Linked DNA regions of Homo sapiens: region 2 is linked to region 1. Evidence: promoter capture Hi-C in 16 types of primary human blood cells and fetal thymus (Javierre and others, 2016). All regions are on one chromosome and are shown on one strand. Each heading gives the region's core, a stretch centred on a gene start or on the middle of the fragment in contact. The rest is flanking DNA. Distances are from core to core; before and after follow the strand shown. Region 1 holds the start of FGFR1 (fibroblast growth factor receptor 1). Region 2 has its middle 10 kb from the start of TACC1.

What was found. The method cuts DNA at HindIII sites, captures the fragments that hold promoters and counts their contacts. A CHiCAGO score of 5 or more calls a contact.
Region 2: a fragment that was not itself captured here is called in contact with the fragment with the promoter of FGFR1 in region 1 in 2 of 17 cell types (M1 macrophages and M0 macrophages); the score reaches 8.1 in M1 macrophages.

Annotation. Positions count from the first base shown.
Region 1 is chr8:38,467,021-38,473,539 of GRCh38, reverse strand. FGFR1 (fibroblast growth factor receptor 1) reads left to right here and starts at 4,905. Exons shown (of 18, transcript NM_023110.3): 1 at 4,905-5,559. RefSeq lists enhancers at 1-767, 768-1,561, 4,573-4,742, 4,179-5,165 and silencers at 5,023-5,092, 5,363-5,492, 5,503-5,622. The HindIII fragment of the contact is 10,295 bases long and covers 2,775-6,519 here.
Region 2 is chr8:38,773,846-38,780,687 of GRCh38, reverse strand. It overlaps a transcript of TACC1 not described here. Among named protein-coding and RNA genes, the nearest start is that of TACC1, 10 kb to the left of the region's middle. The HindIII fragment of the contact is 1,490 bases long and covers 627-2,116 here.

The sequences.
Region 1 (6,519 bases), core at 3,656-6,155:
CCTTTCAACAGTCCTGGGAAGAACAGTTACCATTGTTATCTTCATTTCACCATTGAGCAAATGCAGTGGAGCTAACTAGCTTGCCCAAGATCACACAGCTAGCAATAAGTGGCAGAATCAGGACCCATGCTCAAAACTGTTTGACCCCAGAGACTAAGTTCATCCCTTCAGAGCAAAATAATTCGATGCTTCAGTGACTACCAACTGTCTACCCCCCACCCCCACCCCTCAACACAAACTCTCCAGGCTTGCTTTCCTCAGCTATCCCAGATGAGTTTGTGGATTTTCACATTGCCATCTTTCAAGATTCAGGCATCGCTTCCCCTGAGTCATCTTCCTTCCTGATCTCTCCTTCCACAGCCCCCTGCAGATGCCCCCGGGTGGCACTACGTGTCATGTTTGGTCTCCCCCACAAGACAAGTGAGGTCCCCCAGGCTGTGCACTCATCTCTTTCATCTTCGGATCCACTGTGCCCGGCACAGCGCCTGACACACAAGAAGTGCTCCCTGACACCCCCAGGCTCCGTGAATAGATGTGGCATTCAGGCCAGACAGAGCTGAGCTGCCACACAGCTCGCTCCCTTTCTCACTCCAAATTGGCAGAAGAGAGTGAATGTTATTTACAAAAACACCAAGCCAAATAAGACCCTCCCTTCCCTGACATGCTGAAGCTGCTCTGGGAACAGACAGGGGTCACCAAATGGTGGCCAGATGGTGACTGACTGCTGCTCCCTAACTCCAGGGGCCTGGGGCAAAAGGCTTGGCTGCCCACCTGCTCCCAGGACCTGTGAACCATCCACTTTGTAGGGAAAACCCCAGACAGTTCCCTCCTCCCGAATCCCCTTCTGCAACCAGCTCTCGGAGTGGAGACTCTGCCAGCTCTCACCACATCCTGGGGACTCTTGAAGCCTGGGCTGGAAGTTCTGCAACCTTGCCCCATGTCAATGGTGCTTACTTTACCTGACTTGTTCCATAACAAAGAATTGTTAATTCTGCAGTATCGACCCAGGGTAGTGGGGTGATCATTCCTGGTAGGCACAGCTGAGCCCTAAAATAACAGAACCCAGATAGAGCAGGGGCAGAAGGAATGTGGGGAGAGGGGAAGAGGAGCTCCCGTCTGCCAGGGAAAACTCTGAGGACACAAGTAGCTGGAGGAACAGGGAAGGGATTTCCTACAGTGTTCCCAAACAAAGAGAGCTGGCCGGGCTTTGGGGAGAGCTCCGTTTCCCTTCGTTTCATTCAGCAGTGGTCTCCTCCTCCCACAGATGTGGGAGGCAACAGGCCCCCAACCAGTTATCAGGCCCTCCAGCATGAGGGCCTTTGTCTCCCCTTAGACATGTAGCTGGCAGGGCGAAGGGCCGACAAATCCTCCCTGACCCTCCCAGCTCTTTGTTATCTCAGAGGGAAGGTTACATTTCTGTATGGGAGGCAAGGTGCCAGGAGGCCTCGGGCAGAACAGAGACAGGCAGAGCTGCTGTCTGACCCCTGTTGCCTGGAGCAGCTCAGGGCTGCCCTAGGGACACTCTCCCTCCACTGGCCTGGGGCCCTTCCAGAAATGGGAGGGCTACATTTCAGAAAGAGGGCGAGTAGAGGAGTGGGACAGAAAAGGAGCGAGGTGGGCTGGAAGGATAAAAGCAGCCAACTCTCAATTATTCAGAAACCTGTCTGCAGTGTGTGGACAGCCCATGCCTTTGCTGAGTTTCTCACCTTCTCTGTTCAGCTGCCATCAGCTCTTTCCCTGAGAAGTGGAGGAGGGACCCTGGCAAGTTGGCCACTTGCTTTCATTTTGGCTTCTTGATAAATCTATAGAGGATTTTTCAGCAGCAGGCCCATGTCCCTCAACCCCAAACAAGCATTTAGATCATTATCTTTCTGTTTAAATCAAGAACGCATTATTTAGCCTTTTATTTGGGGTTCAAGATACTCCTACAATGGTTCTAAATCATAAGAAAAAGGGGCTTGATTTAAAACCCCTTGTTTTGGGCCAGGAATGGTGGCTCACGCCTGTAATCCCAGCACTTTGGGAGGCCAAGGTGGGCAGATTACCTGAGGTCAGGAGTTCGAGACCAGCCTGGCCAACATGGTGAAACCCTGTCTCTACTAAAAATACAAAAATTAGCTGGGCATGGTGGCAGGTGTCTGTAATCCCAGCTACTCGGGAGGCTGAGGCAGGAGAATCGCTTGAGCCCAGAAGGCAGAGGTGAGCTGAGTGAGCTGAGATCGTGCCATTGCACTCCAGCCTGGGCAAAAAGAGCAAGACTCCATCTCAGGAAAAAAAAAAAAAAAGAAAACAAAAAAAACCCTTTTTTGAGAAGAATTACGGAGCAAAGTAGAAAAATAGTAGCTGGGTGTTAACATTAAATGCTGGATTTTTTTCATGGCTTGTCTTCCCAATCATATTCCCTCAAATTGTGTTTCCTCCTCTGGTAACCCAGGTTGGTTATGCTTAGCAAGTCCATGAACAATAAATATACATGGAAAACCTCCTGTGTAGAATTGGTCAGACACCTAGATAAGATCCTTGCCCTAAAGCAGTTTAGAAACCAGTTAGAAAGAAAGCAGAGTAAGGAAAACCACTAACAAAGCACGGTATCAACTCAGTGGATAGTCAGCAAGTGAGCAGGGGGTCCAGGGACTGACAAAGCTGGGATGGGCAGGGAAGGCCTCTTGGGGGTAGGGTGTGAGTATGGCCTTCTTACAAGCGTGTGATGTGTAGTAATTAAAATGCAGGAGGCCTAATGGGTGGGCAGCTTACATAGGAGTATAAACCAAGCTTGACCAGGAGCTGAAAGGTTAAATGGTGGCTCTTAGGGGAAAACCCTATAAACAGTGGCTGAAGTTCATTTATTCAACAAAGATATGAGTTCTTGTTTCTCATTTTTTGTTTTGTATTATTTTGTTTTGAGACAGGGTCTTACTCTGTCGCCCAGGCTGGAGTGTAGTGGCTGGATCATAGCTCACTGCAGCCTCAAACTCCTGGGCTCAAGCCATCCTCCTTCTTCAGCCTCCACCTCCAGCTAATTTTTAAAAATATTTTGTAGAGACAAGGGCTCACTTTGTTTCCCAGGCTGGTCTTGAACTTCTGGCTTCAAGTGATCCTCCCGCTTCGGCCACCCAAAGTGCTGGGATTACAGGCGTGAGCTGTAATTTAGTTGTTTATTTACTCATTTGTTCAACAAATACTTATTGAATATTTGCTCTTTGGCCAGTCAAGGGATTTCATGAGTGTCTACTATGTGAATAACACTGTGTTGGCCACTAGTCTGTCACCTACTGGTGGATTAGAAAAATAGCGCGAGGACCATTTTTTCTTTTCTTTTCTTTTTTTTTTTGAGACGGAGTCTTGCTCTGTTGCCAGGCTGGAGTGCAGTGGCACAATCTCGGCTCACTGCAACCTCCGCCTCCCGGGTTCAAGCGATTCCTCTGCCGCAGCCTCCCCAGTAGCTGGGATTACAGGCAAGCGCCACCATGCCTGGCTAATTTTTTTGTATTTTAGTAGAGACGGGGTTTCACCTTGTTGGCAAGGATAGTCTCGATCTCCCGACCTCGTGATCCACCCGCCTCGGCCTCCCAAAGTGCTGGGATTACAGGCATAAGCCACCGCACCCGGCCAACTCTTTTCTTAAATTAGCCAGGGAGGCGTGGGTGGGTTGGGTGAGGAGTTGGGTGGGGGGATCTCATTCAGTATTCAAACTTCTACAAGTTTCGGGGTTGAGGTGGGTGATGGTAAGGGAACAGGCCCTGCCACTACCTTTCATAGTGACTTCCATTTGTGTAATATTTTTGGTCCACTGAGAGCTATTATTTTATTTGATTCTTATGACCATCTTGTGAAGGAGTATCAACAGATACCCCGTTTTGATTTTATCAGATGCATGATTTGTCCTACATCAAACTTCATAAATGATGGACAGAATGGAGGAATCCTTCAGACCAAGTGCTGCCTACTTCCCACCCCAATGGTGGCCTCAGCCTGGGCTCACATCACACGCCCCAAGGAGCCTTGGAAAAAATAAAGGCTCTTGGCTCCTTCCTGGGACAGCGTGATTCCTCATGTCTGAGCAGGCCCATGAACTTGTATTTTTCAGACGTTCCCTAGGACCCGTGTCCATCTGGATTAGGGAACCACTACATTATACCACTTCGCGGGAAGACTCAGGGGGAAGCATTTTAGCCACTTTCCTGTGTTCCACAGTACTGGAGGGTGTTCTGAGTGGGCTGTGATTAATTTCCAAACCAACCACACGTCTCCCCTCAACTCCCACTGCTTACTCTTTGCTTCCTAGACATTCACTGCAGGCTGGAGACTTCTGGAAGCCAACAGCATCGCTGTAGAATTTACAGGGTCCAGTTCCCGGTGGACCACAAAACCTAAATTATGTGGCTGGGGAAAGCTGAAATCCAAGGGAAGGGTTTGAGGAGGGGCTGACCTTATAATAAAACCGGCTTGTATTTACTAAGTGTTAACTATGCGCTAGGCCCTCGTTGACGCCTCAACTCTATGTGAAAAGCACTATTATCCCCCATTTACAGATGGGAAAACAGAGATTTAGAGCGCGAAAATCATTTCCCCAAGGCGCACAGACTCCAAAGCCCACGCTACCAGGTACAACCTCAAGGCTGCGGCGTCTCTTCACCTGCCCCCTAGCCCCCAAACCGCTGCTATGTCTAGGGCCTGACATTCCGGCGCCCTCTGGGACGTGCTCAGATGCAGGGGCGCAAACGCCAAAGGAGACCAGGCTGTAGGAAGAGAAGGGCAGAGCGCCGGACAGCTCGGCCCGCTCCCCGTCCTTTGGGGCCGCGGCTGGGGAACTACAAGGCCCAGCAGGCAGCTGCAGGGGGCGGAGGCGGAGGAGGGACCAGCGCGGGTGGGAGTGAGAGAGCGAGCCCTCGCGCCCCGCCGGCGCATAGCGCTCGGAGCGCTCTTGCGGCCACAGGCGCGGCGTCCTCGGCGGCGGGCGGCAGCTAGCGGGAGCCGGGACGCCGGTGCAGCCGCAGCGCGCGGAGGAACCCGGGTGTGCCGGGAGCTGGGCGGCCACGTCCGGACGGGACCGAGACCCCTCGTAGCGCATTGCGGCGACCTCGCCTTCCCCGGCCGCGAGCGCGCCGCTGCTTGAAAAGCCGCGGAACCCAAGGACTTTTCTCCGGTCCGAGCTCGGGGCGCCCCGCAGGGCGCACGGTACCCGTGCTGCAGTCGGGCACGCCGCGGCGCCGGGGCCTCCGCAGGGCGATGGAGCCCGGTCTGCAAGGAAAGTGAGGCGCCGCCGCTGCGTTCTGGAGGAGGGGGGCACAAGGTCTGGAGACCCCGGGTGGCGGACGGGAGCCCTCCCCCCGCCCCGCCTCCGGGGCACCAGCTCCGGCTCCATTGTTCCCGCCCGGGCTGGAGGCGCCGAGCACCGAGCGCCGCCGGGAGTCGAGCGCCGGCCGCGGAGCTCTTGCGACCCCGCCAGGACCCGAACAGAGCCCGGGGGCGGCGGGCCGGAGCCGGGGACGCGGGCACACGCCCGCTCGCACAAGCCACGGCGGACTCTCCCGAGGCGGAACCTCCACGCCGAGCGAGGTAAGAGCCGCGGCGCCCCCGGATCTGGGGCGGGCTTGGCGTCCCGAGCGGCCCCCGGCGCCGGAGCCTCCCGGCTGCGCGCTTTGCCCGCCGCAGCCCAGCCGGGGCCGGCGCCTCCCTCCGCTCGCCGCCCGCCCCTTTCACCTCCTGGCTCCCTCCCGGGCGATCCGCGCCCCTTGGGTCTCCCCTCCCTTCCCTCCGTCCGCGTCTCCTGCGCCCCCTCCCTGCGCTCGTCCCGCCGCTCTTCCCGCCGCCCAACTTTTCCTCCAACTCGCGCTCGGGAGCTGGCGAGGCGGCGGCGGCTCCTCAGTGAGTCCCGGGAGGGACAGGCCCGGGGCGAAGGCGGCGAGGCCCGCGGTTTCCTGGACTGGGGAGGAGGGCGGGAGTGGGCGGCGAGGTGGGATGCGTTGTGTGTGTTATGTGTGTGTGTTGCATTCCACTCCATGTCTTTTTGGTCCCCTTTTGGGGATTCACCCCCAATTCAGCAGGTAGCTTTGGGCTCAACGCTAAAAATCCGGGGCATTCCTAAGTCCTTTTCCACCCCCGGGAAAGCCTGGGGTGCGGGTTGGGGTCGGATGGGGTGGGAGATGAACTGCGGAGGACGTGGAGGGCTAGGTTAGCTTCTCTTGGAATAGGTTTTAAGGAGGTGTCGTCACCAAATGGCTGAATCTGCTTGAGCTGAGAGCGAAAAACGACTCCCCTTTCCAGAAGGGGTGATCTTATGACTTGGACGGTCTCTGAAAGGGTCGGAAGTTTGGGGAACGGGAGGACAACCCACGGTCGTTAAGCCGAGGTGTGGGATGGGGGCGGAAGGACCGTTCGGTCCCAATCTGGTTCCTAGAGGTGGGGGAAGGGATGAGGGTTTTTGTCCGGTGTGGTTCACTCGGCAGCGATGCGTATGCTTCTCTGGCCCAGACCCCTCTGCACCTCGCTTCCCCTACCGTTATGTTTGGGGTTGGG
Region 2 (6,842 bases), core at 122-2,621, 310 kb before region 1:
AAGTTTATCTGGAAAAATAAACTGGTGAACATATTTTAGATTTTGTAAAAAAAAAACAAAAAAAAACAACACCAACAAGAAGAGTGAAGAATAGACTAGTCCTACAAGACATTGAGACACATTTATGCAAAAATAGCCAGATCTTTGTTCTGTAACACAGAACAGAAAGCCCAGGAAAAGATCTTACAAGATACAGGAATTTATTATATACCAAAAAAGATGGCTTGAACCCGGGAGGCGGAGGTTGCAGTGAGCCAAGATCGTGCCACTGCACTCCAGCCTGGGCAACAGAGCGAGACTCTATCTCAAAAAAAAAGAACAAACAACAAAAATATAAAGAACATGTTACAATATGTAAGGAGAAGGAAGATTTATGATTGGAGCATAGTTGGCTGGCAATGGGAAAAAAGATCAAGTTAAACCCTTACCTCAGAGCATATACCAGGATAAATTCCAGATGGATTAGATGACTAAATAATAAAAATCGAACCATTGGGAGAAAACAGTCTACAAGCAACAGAATCTATCAGAGCTCTGTAGGAAGGATGAGGATCCAACTTACAAGTAATTAATGAAATCAGACACAAAATAAAGATAGATTTGGTTACATTTAAAAAAATGAAGCTTCTGACTGTGTGCCTTCAAGTTAAAAGGCAAACAACAGGCCATGGAAAAACAAAGGCTGTTAGTATTGTTATTACCTAAGGAACTCGTGAAAACAAGTAAGATCATTTAAGCCCCAAAAGAAAAGTGAACAATTATAACTGCTTACTATGTGTTAGACACTACACTTTACATGAATCGTCTCATTTAATCTCCCCCACTTACTCCTACAATCTCAGGAGGAAAGTATTGTTACGGCCTTTTTGTTGTTGTTAACAAGTTAACTTGGCTGCATTTCACCCTCTACAGCAGAGGCTTAGCAAGGAAGGGTTTCAGAAGGTCCTGGCCTCCCTGAAATTGTATGCAAAAAGTATGTGTGTGTGCATATTTGCATCAGTCTCTCCCTCTCCTCTTCCCCACATACAGTCAAGCCCCACTCCAGGAATAATGTTTTAGGTTGACTAAAGATTGATTTTCGAATCTGAAAGGGAACTAATATAAAATTCTTCAGTATAAGGAAGTACTGGCCAAAAAAGCCCTTATACGGAAAATCCAGACCTGCCAGAAGTTAGTGTAGAAAACAGCCAGCTTTGAAGACACCCGGAGGGTGGAAAAGGGCGGAGAGCAGGCCTAGCAGTGCTCACCACTCCAGGCAGGGTGTGCCCTTCCCCAAATGCCCAGTGGGAGCCCATGTTACTGGGCAGCCTGTGGGTTTCATCTAAGTGACTGTGTGGTGACCAAAGTGTGAAATGCTCATTTCAAGAAGGCATTTGCCAGTTGAGCCAAAGTACCATAAAAAAAGAGCATTTCAGCCAGGCATAGTGGCATCTTCCTATAATCCCAGCACTTTTGGAGGCTGAGGCAGGAGGATAACTTGAGCCCAGGACTTTGAGACCAGCCTGAGCAACATAGCAAAACCCCATCTCTATAAAAAAATTAAAAAGTAGCCAGGCGTGGTGGTGTTCGCCTGTAGTCCCAGCTAATCTTGAGCCCAGGAGGATCGCTTGAGCCCAGAAGGTCAAGGCTGAAGTAAGCCGTGATTGTGGCATTGCATTCCAGATTGGGTGACAGAGCGAGACCTTGTCTAAAAAGAAAAGAAAAAAAAAAAAAAAACCCAAGGACCCCTACTGATACAAATGAGAATCCTCAAAGGCACAAAAAATTGGGCCAGAGCATAAAAGGCATACTTTATGTGGGAGGTGCAAAAGGATTAATTTTAACATCTCTTTCTTTGGGATGCTCTTTCGCTATACTTCCTTTTAGGGTGGTTTCTTCCAAGAAACTATGTTGATGAGGGAAATGACACCCAGGAGCCTCTCCCCATCTGGGAAAAAGTAGCAAGGCTCAGCAAAGAAAGGAGGCATCAAACAGGTTGCCAAGGCCTGATTTTGTGAAGCAGGAAGCCTAAAAACTGGGGAAGCACTCTTTAAGAAAAATGCTAAAGGACCCCATGAACACAGTGCTAGGGCCACACTAGTATGAAGGGGCCCATGCAAGGGAGGGGACTGAAGCTTAGGCTTCCTCAGCTTCATAGTAAATTCAGCTCTGCCCAGAGAACAAAAGAGATTCCTGCCTGTGGCTCAGGAGTGGTTCAGCTGGCCTCAACTCAGTAAGTGAAATGTCCATTTATGGAGCGAGGGGGTCACACTGACCTCTGTCTTCTTAGAGGAAACAAAAATATTTAACTGTTGGAAACTGGATAAAACTGTCAAAAGATATCTCCTACACAGATTGTGAAACATAATTCATGGCTCTGTTCCTTCTGTACCCATTGTAAACACACACATACACACACACACACACACACACAATTTTAATTATTAAGATAAAAAAGCAAAAGGCCAGGTGTGGTGGCTCATGATTGTAATCCCAACACTTTGGGAGACGAAGGCAGGAGGATCGCTTGAGCCCAGGAGTTTGAGACCAGCCTGGACCACACAGTGAGAGCCCATCTCTACACACATGCACACACACAAAGATAAAAAAGAAAAACTATAATGCTTCTTTAACATTGTGTGTCTATGCACCTCTACTCTTTGAATTTCCACAAGATCACCATGGTAGAGCCTAATTCCCTCACCCCACATCCTGTATCCATCTGTATCCATCATTTCCTTATTTCTTCTAGCAAAAGAACCCTCTGAATTTTTGCTGAGCACATGGTCACACAGCAAGAGGCCACGTTTCCTTCTCTACAACTAGGTGTGGCCTGTGACTCAGTTCTCACCCATGGGATGTGAGCACAAGGGGTAAGTGCAAATTTGGGGCAGTGTCTTTTTTTTCTCTTTTAGAGACAGAGTTTTGCTCTATTGTCCAGGCTGAAATGCAGTAGTGTAATCATATCTCACTATAGCCTCGAGCTCCTGGGCTCTAGCAATCCTCCCACCTCAGCCTCTTGAGTAGCTGGAAATCCAGGTGCACACCACCATGTCCAGCTAATGTTTTTTGTTTTGTTTTGTTTTGTTTGTAGAAACAGGGTCTTGCTGTGTTGCCCAGGCTGGTCTCAAATTCCTGGACTCAAGCAATTCTCACCCCTTGGCCTACAGAAGCAGTGGGATTATAGACATGAGCTATTGTGCCTGGCCCCTGGGCCAATGTCTTTAAAAAGAAAACTGCATGTCCAGCCTCTCCCGGCCGAAAAGTTGTGAACTGCGTGTCACAACTTCTGCTGTGTGAGGACCACACTCTGGACAGGATAGAGCCACAGAACAGACAGAACCCGCACCAGGCTGACTGGGGAGCAGAGCAGCCTGCGGCCCTAGACTAATTGCTGCCTGAGGACTGTTCCATGAGAGAGAAAAGTCTATCTTCTCTTTTTTTTTTTTTTTTGAGATGGAGTCTCACTCTGTTGCCCAGGCTGAAGTGCAGTGGCGTGATCTCGGCTCACTGCAACCTCTGCCTCCCGGGTTCAAGCAATTCTCCTGTCTCAGCCTCCAGAGTGGCTGGGATTACAGGCTCGTGCCACCACACCCAGCTGATTTTTGTATTTTTAGTAGACATGGGGTTTCACCATGTTGGCCAGGCTGGTATCGAACTCCTGACCTCAGGTGGTCCGCCTGCCTCAGCCTCCCAAAGTGCTGGAATTACAGGCGTGAGCCACCGTGCCCAGCCTAAAAGTCTATCTTCTTTATCAGACTGTGTCACTGGGCCCCTTTGTAACAGCAGCCTCATCTCCACCCTCACATTACAACCTCCTCTGGGGGATTTCAGCATCTAAGCTTCCTTAGATGAAGGTATGGGAAGAACCTGCCTTAAATTTCGTTCTACATTCTTCTGAACAGGATTACATGAAAGTTCCTTCAAAGATGGAAGCATTTTTAAAAATGATAAATCTACACAGGTTGAGCATCCCTAATCCAACAATCTAAAATCCAAAACGTTTTGCTTGTCAACATGACACCACAGTGGAAAATTCCACACCTAATTTCATGTGGCCAGTCACAGTCAAAACACAGTCAAAACTTTGTTTCATGCACAAAATTATTACAACTGCTGTTTAAAATTACCTTCAGGCTATGTGTAGAAGGTGTATATGAAACATAATGAATCTCATGTTTAGACTTGGGTCCCATCCCCAAGCTATCTCATTATGTATATGCAAATATTCCAAAATCTAAAATCTGAAACACTTCTGGTCCTAAGCATTTTGGATAAGGAACACTCTACCTGTATCTCAATGATGTCTTTTCTCAGGGCAGAAAATTCCCGAACCAAAAGACTCAAGCCTGCCCCGTGGATGATGTCCTAATTATCCTAAAAACAGGACTGAGACTACCCTTCCTTCTGCCGTAATGACTTGAGCTGTGATACTGACTTTCTAGAAATTAGGCAGTTGCATTTTTAAAGATGACTGATGTGGACAAAAACGTTGAAGAAGGAGGGAGTCAATATTTAGATTTCACAAAGGCCAAGTAGAATGGATTTACATATTGATGAAGGTTATTATTTTCTTTGGGGAGATTTCCTTGAAATAATATGATTGTATAACTCCAATATTTGCCCAATTCTAAGGATAAATAATAACAATAATAAATAATAACTGACCCAAATCCTATAAGTGAATTAATCATTGTTCTTTGGCTTCAACACTAACTGGTGCTAGTGACGATTTCTAGCACACACACAAAATATTTTTAGAAATTGTTTTCTTATGGGCTCAATTAGTCAAGTTATTTTGTTGTATTATTTTATAGAACTATGACAAGCAAGAGCGAGTTTATCCTTACCGGTCTTCCCTGTACCTCATCATGTATGATATAGGAATATCTTATGTGTTTTCTGTTTCCTTTGGCCAAGGCATAGACACTGAGCAGAATATATTTGTTTTACATTATTTTCTGAACAAATGATAAATCACTGCTACAGACTGACTGTTTATATCCCCCCAAAATTCATAGGTTAAAACCTAAACTCCAATGTGAGAATATTAAGAAGTGGGGCCTTTGGGAGGTGATTAGGTCATGAGGGTTCTTCCTGGGGTCAGCGCCCTTATAAAAGAGACCCCAGACAGCTCCCTCTCCCTTCTTCTGCCAAATGAGGACACAGGGAGAAGACATCCAGGAGGTCAGCCTTCACCAGATGTGGAATCTGCTGGTCCCTTAATCATGGGGACCTCCATCCTCCAGAACTTCCAGAAATAAATGACTGGTTTATAAACCACCCAGGCAATTATATCCTTATAGTAGCCTTAACAGACTAAGATAATCACTGACTCCTAACCTAAGCATCCATCTCAGATCTCATAGAACCACAGAAATTTTTAGCTGGAAAGGACCTTTGCCAAAGATCACTGGGTCGAATATCATTCTTTTTGGAAGAAGGTTTACTCAGGCACCAAAGTGCACAACTAGGATTCATAACCCTTGCAAGGAAGGTATGAAGGTATGAATTCTGGAGTTTCCCCCCAGCCCCAAAAGATATGCCCACTTGGTATGTATAATAGAGATATGACTTCTCCCCAAAATTCACCTCATTTTAAAAGGCACTGTAAATTGTTTTATAAAGCAAATACATACAAATAGTCTTGTACTTTGTTTTAAAAGTTTTTGGTTTTCATTTTTTTTTTTTTTTTTTTGAGACGGAGTCTCACCGTGTCACCCAGGCTGGAGTGCAGTGGTGCGATCTTCGCTCACTGCAACCTCTGCCTCTGGGGTTCAAGCGATTCTCCTGCTTCAGCCTCCCGAGTAGCTGGGATTACATGCATGTGCCACCATGCCCAGCTAATTTTTGTATTTTTAGTAGAGAGGGGGTTTCACCATGTTGGACAGGCTGGTCTCGAACTCCTGACCTCGTGATCCGCCCGCCTCGGCCTCCCAAAGTGCTGGGATTACAGGCGTGAGCCACCGTGGCTGGCCTTTAAAAATATTTTTATAGCCTAGGCAACATAGTGAGACCCCATCCCTTCAAAAACAAAAACAAAAAAAAATTAGCCTGGTGTGGCAATGCACACCTGTAGTCCTAGCTACTTGGGAGGCCAAGATGGGAGGATCATTTGAGCCCAGGAATTCAAGGTTGCAGTGAGCTGTGATGCTACCACTGCACTTCAGCCTGGGCTATAGAGTGAGACTCTGTCTCAAAACAATAATAAAAAATGTATTTTTAAATACCTTTAGTGTTTAAGGCAAAATAATACATATGTTCATTCATTCATTCATTCATTCATTCATTCCACAAATTTGACAAATGACCAAGCTTTGCCAGCCTCTGCTGAACACTGTGTTGAACAAAAGAGACCCAGTTCCTGCCCTCATAGAACTTGCATATTAGTGAGCTTAGTAAGCCAACAAATAAATATGTAATATATAAATTGTCATGTATGAAATATAAGAACTGCAGGGGGCTCTGAGAATGGCTGGTGGACGGCATCGGTGGAGATGTCAAGGGAGGTTGCTCTGAAGGAGTGACAGACTGAAGCCTCAGGGATAGGCAGAAGCTGCCTGGGTGAAGTGTAGGGTAACAGCGTTCCTTCATCAAGACACTAAGGACAGAAGCAGCCTCCAGTTTTGAGTAAGCGTGGTTGAAGAGCAGCTGCTGGAGGGAGGAGAGGGGCTTAGGCTGGTGAAGTGGGAGAGGCACAAGGCATGACAGCCTAGAAGACCATGTTAAGCATCCTTGTCTCTGAAAAAGTGAATTTTTGACTACATAGGCAGTTCAAAGAAGAAAGAAAAACCTGCCCATAGTATTGTCTTTCATAAATAGCCACTGTTAAAATGTTGGTGAGCTAGATATACCCTTTTTTC